Linked DNA regions of Homo sapiens: region 1 is linked to region 2. Evidence: promoter capture Hi-C in human tissues and cell types (Jung and others, 2019). All regions are on one chromosome and are shown on one strand. Each heading gives the region's core, a stretch centred on a gene start or on the middle of the fragment in contact. The rest is flanking DNA. Distances are from core to core; before and after follow the strand shown. Region 1 has its middle 7.5 kb from the start of MIR21. Region 2 holds the start of SMG8 (SMG8 nonsense mediated mRNA decay factor).

The links. Contacts are between HindIII fragments. The study calls those that stand out against the background at their distance.
Region 1: a fragment that was not itself captured here is called in contact with the fragment with the promoter of SMG8 in region 2 in 1 of the 25 tissues and cell types used here (dorsolateral prefrontal cortex).

The regions. Positions count from the first base shown.
Region 1 is chr17:59,846,794-59,850,739 of GRCh38, forward strand. It overlaps the pseudogene RNU6-450P. Among named protein-coding and RNA genes, the nearest start is that of MIR21, 7.5 kb to the left of the region's middle. RefSeq lists enhancers at 1-734, 2,275-2,594 and a silencer at 773-872. The HindIII fragment of the contact is 8,201 bases long and covers 1-3,946 here.
Region 2 is chr17:59,207,619-59,211,388 of GRCh38, forward strand. It overlaps SMG8 (SMG8 nonsense mediated mRNA decay factor), which reads left to right and starts at 2,417. Exons shown (of 4, transcript NM_018149.7): 1 at 2,417-3,770. The coding sequence starts at 2,434. RefSeq lists an enhancer at 2,226-2,295. The HindIII fragment of the contact is 6,268 bases long and covers 1-3,686 here.

The sequences.
Region 1 (3,946 bases), core at 443-2,942, 640 kb after region 2:
GAGGCCATCTATCCCTTTTGGGGGACAAAACACATCAGCTTTTCCCTTCAGACCACTTTTGACTGAAGCAGTGATCAACATTGCTTAATTGTGTTCCAGTCTGTTTCCAGCGGGGAAAAAATGCTTTAGGGGAGTGAGGCAGTTAGGGATTTGAAAACAGGGATGGTGCCGCCTGAAGGTGGGGAATGACTTAGATCACTGTCTTCCTTTGGCTCCTCACCATGTTGTGTGGAGGAAACGAAAAGCAGCTCAAGTTCACTCCTCTTGGCAGTAGTGCAGAAGCCTGGCTTGCCACGGCCCTGGAGAACCATGTTTTTCCCAACTTTTTTTTTTTTCTTTTGAGACGGAGTTTCACTCTTGTTGCCGAGGCTGGAGTGCAGTGGCGCAATCTCGGCTCACTGCAGCCTCCGCCTTCCAGGTTCAAAGCGATTCTCCTGCCTCAGCCTCTCAAGTAGCTGGGATTACAGGTGCATGCCACCACACTCGGCTAATTTTTTGTATTTTTTTCAGTAGATACGGGGTTTCATCATGTTGGCCAGGCTGGTCTCGAACTCCTAACCTCAGGTGATCCACCCGCCTCGGCCTCCCAAAGTGCTGGGATTACAAGCATGAACCACCATGCCCAGCCTTTTTTTTTTTTTTTTTTTTTTTTAATACAGAACACAAATTTGAGTGTCATTCTTGTGCAGGGGCCATGCTAATCTTCTGTATATTGTTCCAATTTTGGTGTATGTGCTGCCAAAGCAAGCACCCAGCTTCTTTTCATTAGTTAAGAAGATGAAGGCCAAGACTAAGGCAGGGAGGCCTTTCTCTGCCTTTCACTCTTTAGTGCACCTCACAGTCAGTTGCACTTGAGTAAGGACTGCTAAACCTCTCTGAGAGCTGCCAGATGTTCCTGCCTAGCCTCAGGTTGTTGGTTCTTCAGACACCTCTTCATTCTGCCCATTGCACCAGCCCTTTCCCATCTCCATGTTCCCTCCATGGTAATTTCTTTGTACACAACAACCACACGGAGCACCAGCAATCAAGATTAGCTCCCGGGAACTCTGGCGTGCCCTGTACCAGGAAGCACAGTGGATTACTACAACTTTTGATAATGATTGTTTGCTTTGTACCAGGCATTATTTTCAGGGCTGTTTCACATGTGTTGTACTTAACAACCCCATGAGGAAATTAAGGCAGGGTGGTTCAGTAATTTGTCAAGGGAAACAAGGAAGTAGAGCAGGCAGCAGAGGCGTTCTGGCTCTGAACTACTCTGTTCTGTAGAAATCAGTGCAAAAGTCCAAGCTTCAGCATACTTGTTTCATCTTGTGATCACAGGTAGTTTTTTTTGTTTTTTTTTTGTTGTTGTTGTTGTTGTTTATTTGTTTGTTTTGAGATGGAGTCTCGCTGTCGCCCAGGCTGGAGTGCAGTGGGGCGATCTCCGCTCACTGCAGGCTCCGCCTCCCGGGTTCAAGCCATTCTCCTGCCTCAGCCTCCCGAGTAGCTGGGACTACAGGCGCCCGCCACCTCGCCCAGCTAATTTTTTGTATTTTTAGTAGAGACGGGGTTTCACCGTGTTAGCCAGGATGGTCTCAATCGCCTGACCTCGTGATCCGCCCGCCTCGGCCTCCCAAAGTGCTGAGATTACAGGTGTGAGCCACCGCGCCCGGCCCTGATCACAGGTAGTTGATGGAGAAAGGAAGATAACAGAAAATCAAGGCCACAACCTCAAATTTTGCTATTTAAATAGATAAGCAGACTTTACTCTTCCCTGTATCACAGGGTTGGAAAAGCAAGCTCCATTCTTAGCCATCCATGTGGGCAGATTCCCAGAGTGGTGTTTGCTATAATTATGATTTAAAAGCAAGGTTTTTTGTTTGTTTGTTTTAAGGAGATGGGGTCTCCCATGTTACCCAGGCCGAACTCCAACTCCTGGGCTCAAGTCATCCTCCCGCCTCAGCCTCCCGAGTAGCTGGGACTACAGGCACTCACCACCACACTTGGGTAAAAGTAATTTCTATTTCTACAGCCTTTTTTTATTTTTCAAAGTATTTTAATGTCTTGAGTTTGGGTTTTGTTTTGAGACAGGGTTTCACTCTGTTGCCCAAGCTGAAGTACAGTGGCGCAATCACAGCCACAGCTGACTGCAACCTCCACCTCCCAGGCTCAAGCAATCCTCCCGCCACAGCCGCCCCACTCCCCACCAGTAGCTGGGACTACAGAGCTGCACCACCACACCCAGCTAATTTCTGTAGTTTTTTTTTTTAGTAGAGACAGGGTTTCACCACGTTGACCACGCTGGTTTTAAACTCCTGAGCTCAATCAATCCACCTGCCTCGGCCTCCCAAAGTGCTGGAATTACAGGTGTGAGCCACTGCACTCGGCTAGGAAACCCTTTTCTGATCTTTCCTTGTCAGCAATGATCTCTTCACACTTCCTTTCTTACGGCCCTCACCTCACTCTGTATTATAGTTATCTGCATATATGAATAAAATCCCTAAGAAGACTGCAGGGTCCTGGAGGGAGGAGATCTGTATCGACAACTTTGTCTCTTCTTCACAGCACCTTACACCAGTGGGGATTTAAAAAGTGAATACAGGGCTGGGCACCGTGGCTTATGCCTATAATCCTAGCACTTTAAGAGGATGAGGTGGGAGGATCACCTGTCGCCAGGAGTTCAAGACCAGCCTGGCCCAACATGGCAAAACCCTGTCTCTACTAAAAATACAAAAGTTCGCTGGGCGTAGTGATGCATGTCTGTAATCCCAGCTACTTGGGAGGCTGAGGCATGAGGATTGCTTGAACCCGGGAGGCAGAGGTTGCAGTGAGCCAAGGTTGCACCACTGCACTCCAGCCTGGTTGACCAGGTGACAAAGTGAGACCCTGTCTCAAAAAAACAAAACAAAAGTTTCCTGAGGGGAGTAGTATTTGAATTGACAAGGTAGAGGGAGTGAAACGAAAGGTATTCTAACCAGAAAAAAACTCAGACACCAGGAAAGAACAAATAAGGGGCTATGTGTAGGGTGGGGAGAAAGACAGCATCAGGTTTTCCACTCGAGTCCTCTGTAGCTCTGCCTTAGCTCGCTGTTTAGTTTCCTTAAAGTACCGACCAAATTCACAACTAGTTTGTCTATTTTCTTGCTAGTGCTTGCGACACTAGAACATAAGCCCGGTGAAAGGAAAATAAATCTTGGGACCCCAAAATCACTAAGCCAAAGAAAAGTCAAGCTGGGAACTGCTTAGGGCAAACCTGCCCCCCATTCTATTCCTTAAAAAGATAGCTACTAAGATTTTTTTTTTTAAAAAAACTGCATACTGGGGCTGGGCGCGGTGGCTCATGCCTGTAATCCCAGCACTTTGGGAGGCCAAGCAGGCAGATCACAAGGTCAGGAGATTGGGACCATCCTGGCTAATACGGTGAAACCCTGTCTCTACTAAAAATGCAAAAACTTAGCTGGGTGCAGTGGCGGATGCCTGTAGTCCCAGCTACTCAGGAGGATGAGGCCGGAGAATGGCATGAACCCAGGAGGCACAGGTTGCAGTGAGCTGAGATAGTGCCACTGCAGTCCGGCCTGGGCGAAAGAGCGAGACTCCGTCTCAAAAAAAAAAAAAACAACTGCATACCGGCCGGGCGTGGTGGCTCACGCCTGTAATCCCAACACTGGCAGGCAGAGACGGGCGGATCACCTGAGGTCAGGAGTTTGAGACCAGCCTGGCCAACATGGTGAAAACCCGTCTCTACTAAAAATACAAAAATTAGCCAGGGGTTGTGGCGGGTGCCTGTAGTCCCAGCTACTCGAGGCTGAGGCAGGCGAATTGCTTGAACCTGGCAGGCAGAGGTTGCAGTGAGCCGAGATAGAGCCACTGCACTATAGCCTGGGTGACAGAGGGAGACTATCTCCCCCCCCCAAAAAAAAAAGAAAGAAAAGAAAAAGAAAAAAATGAGAAAGAGAGAGAGAGAGAG
Region 2 (3,770 bases), core at 1,167-3,666:
TATTGGCCGGGCGCAGTGGCTCACGCCTGTAATCCCAGCACTTTGGGAGCCCAAGGCAGGTGGATCATGAGGTCAGAAGATCAAGACCATCCTGGCTAACACGGTGAAACCTGGTCTCTACTAAAAATACAAAAAATTAGCCGGGCGTGGTGGCAGGCGCCTGTAGTCCCAGCTACTTGGGAGGCTGAGGCAGGAGAATGGCATGAACCCGGGAGGCAGAGCTTGCAGGGAGCTGAGATCACGCCACTGCACTCCAGCCTGGGCAACAGAGTGAGACTCTGTCTCAAAAAAACAAAAAAGTATATAGTAAGTATAGAAAATATATGAATTAAAAAATCAATGCCGAGCGTGATGGCTCAAACCTATAATCCCAGCACTTTGGGAGGCCGGGGTGGGCAGATCACCTGGGGTTGGAAGTTCGAGACCAGCCTGGCTAACGTGGGGAAACCCCATCTCTACTAAAAATACAAGTTTAGGTGGGCGTGGTGGTACGTGCTTGTAATCCCAGCTACTTGGGAGGCTGAGGCAGAAGAATTGCTTGAGGAGACGGAGACAGGGAATAGGAGATGGAGGTTGCCGTGATCCCAGATAGCACCACTGCACTTCAGCCTGGGTGACAGAGTGAGACTCTGTCTCACAAAAAAAAAAAAAAAAAATTTTAGGCCGGAGGCGAGGTGTGGTGGCTGACACCTGTAATCCCAGCACTTTGGGAGGCCGAGGTGGGTGGATGATGTGAGGTCGGGAGTTCGAGACCAGCCTGGCCAACATGGTGAAACACCATCTCTACTAAAAATACAAAAATTAGCCGCCCATGGTGGTGCACCTGTAATCCCAGCTCCTTGGGAGGCTGAGGCAGTAGAATCACTTGAACCTGGGAGGTGGAGTTTGCAGTGAGCTTAGATTGCACCACTGTACTCCACTCTGGGCAACAGAGCAAGACTCTGTCTCAAAATATATATAATATATATTATTATGTATATATATAATATATATTATTATGTATATGTGTAATATATATTATTATGTATATATATAATATATATATTATATCATAATCCCTTCCCTCACTAAGTAATCACTGACCTACTTGGTACAATAAATATTTCCTTGCTTTTAGTAAGAACACACCCCTAAATGCAATGGTTTATTTTGCTTGCTTTTGAACTCTATAGAAATAAAATCAGGCCTGGCGCAGTGGCTCTCGCCTGTAATCCCACCACTTTGGGAGGCCGAGGCGGGCAGATCATGAGATCAGGAGATTGAGACTATCCTGGCCAACATGGTGAAATCCTGTCTCTATTAAAAATACAAAAGTTAGCTGGGTGTGGTCTCACGCACCTGTAATCCCAGCTACTTGGGAGGCTGAGGCAAGAGAATCACTTGCACCGGGGAGCCGGAGGTTGCAGTGAGTCGAGATCGCGCCACTGAACTCTAGCCTGGCCACAGAGCAAGACTGCATCTCCAAAAAAAAAAAAAAAAAAAAAAAAAAATAGAATTATAGGGTATATACACTTTTGTTTCTGATTTCTTTCAATCAACATTTATTTTAAAGATTCAGTCATGTTATTGTATAGTGCTATAGATAATTTTTTTAGATTCAAAGATTTTTATTTTTTACAAAACCCCAGAATAATAAACGTTATAATTATACATTTAAATCTGGTTGTAAGTTTTATCCTGGCAGCTATTTGTCAATATGCCTTCTAGTTAGAGAGGTTCTGCAAGTTATAATTTACATACAAAGATATTTCGCAATTTTTTTTTTTTTTGAGACGGAGTCTCACTCTGTCGCCCAGGCTGGAGTGCAGCGGGGTGATCTCGGCTCACTGCAACCTCCACCTCCTGGTTCGAGCAATTCTCCTGCCTCAGCCTCCTGAGCAGCTGGAACTACAGGTATGCGCCACCACGCCTAATTTTTGCTTTTTTTTTTTTTTTTTTTTTTTTTTTTAGACGGTTTTCGCTCTTGTTGCCCAGGCTGGAGTGCAATGGTGTGATCTCGGTTCACTGCAACTTCCGCCTCCCGGGTTCAAGCGATTGTCCTGCCTCAGCCTCCCGAGTAGCTGGGATTACAGGCGCCCGCCACCACGCCCGGCTAATTTTCGTATTTTTAGTAGAGATGGGGTTTCACCATGTTGGCCAGCCTGGTCTCGAACTCCTGACTTCAGGTGATCCGCCCGCCTTGGCCTCCCAAAGTGCTAGGATTACAGGCGTGAGCCACCGCAGTAGTCCCAGTTTTGTTTTGTTTTTTTGTTTTTTGTTTTTGATATCTCAATTCCTACAGTTGAGGAAACAAACTAGGAGAGGAGAAGAGGAGGCGGAACTCAAGTGACGGGAAAGCAGGAACTGAAGAAGCGGAGGAAGGATTTCAAAATTGGACGAAAGCCGGTCGGTTTTACTAACGGACCGGAAGGACTCTAGAGAACGCTCTGCACTATGGCTGGTCCCGTGAGCTTGCGAGACCTTCTAATGGGAGCATCAGCCTGGATGGGCTCTGAAAGTCCCGGAGGGTCCCCTACTGAGGGCGGAGGGAGCGCGGCTGGCGGACCGGAGCCTCCATGGCGGGAGGATGAGATCTGCGTTGTGGGAATCTTCGGCAAGACGGCTCTACGCCTGAATTCCGAGAAGTTCTCTCTTGTGAATACGGTGTGCGACCGACAGGTCTTTCCTCTCTTTCGCCACCAAGATCCTGGGGATCCAGGACCTGGAATCAGAACTGAGGCTGGCGCCGTGGGTGAGGCCGGTGGAGCCGAGGACCCTGGGGCTGCAGCCGGGGGTTCAGTTCGGGGAAGTGGAGCTGTCGCGGAAGGTAACCGAACTGAGGCAGGCTCCCAGGACTACAGCCTTCTGCAGGCCTACTACAGTCAGGAAAGCAAAGTTCTGTATCTTCTCCTCACCTCCATCTGTGACAATTCACAGCTTCTCCGGGCTTGTCGGGCTCTTCAGAGCGGGGAAGCTGGAGGTGGACTCTCTTTACCTCATGCAGAAGCACACGAGTTCTGGAAGCATCAAGAGAAGCTGCAGTGCCTCAGTCTCCTTTACCTATTCTCTGTCTGTCATATCTTGCTTCTGGTCCATCCCACTTGTTCCTTTGATATCACTTATGATCGAGTATTCAGAGCCCTGGATGGGCTGAGACAGAAGGTCCTGCCGCTCCTTAAAACAGCCATTAAGGATTGTCCAGTTGGCAAAGACTGGAAGCTAAACTGCCGACCTTGCCCACCTAGACTCCTTTTCCTCTTTCAACTCAATGGAGCCCTCAAGGTAGAACCTCCTCGGAACCAAGACCCAGCTCATCCAGACAAGCCCAAGAAACATTCTCCCAAAAGGAGGCTGCAGCATGCCCTGGAGGACCAGATCTATAGAATCTTCCGGAAGAGTCGTGTCTTGACTAATCAGAGCATCAACTGCCTCTTTACTGTGCCTGCCAACCAAGCTTTCGTGTACATAGTACCGGGAAGCCAGGAGGAGGACCCAGTAGGTATGTTGCTGGACCAACTTAGGAGTCATTGTACTGTGAAGGACCCGGAATCTTTGCTGGTGCCTGCACCCCTTTCTGGGCCTAGGCGATACCAGGTGATGAGGCAGCACAGCCGACAACAACTTTCCTTTCACATTGACAGCAGCAGTTCCAGTTCTTCAGGCCAGCTAGTGGATTTCACTCTTCGGGAATTCCTATGGCAGCATGTGGAGCTAGTTCTAAGCAAGAAAGGTTTCGATGACAGTGTGGGCAGGAACCCACAGCCTTCCCATTTTGAACTTCCTACTTATCA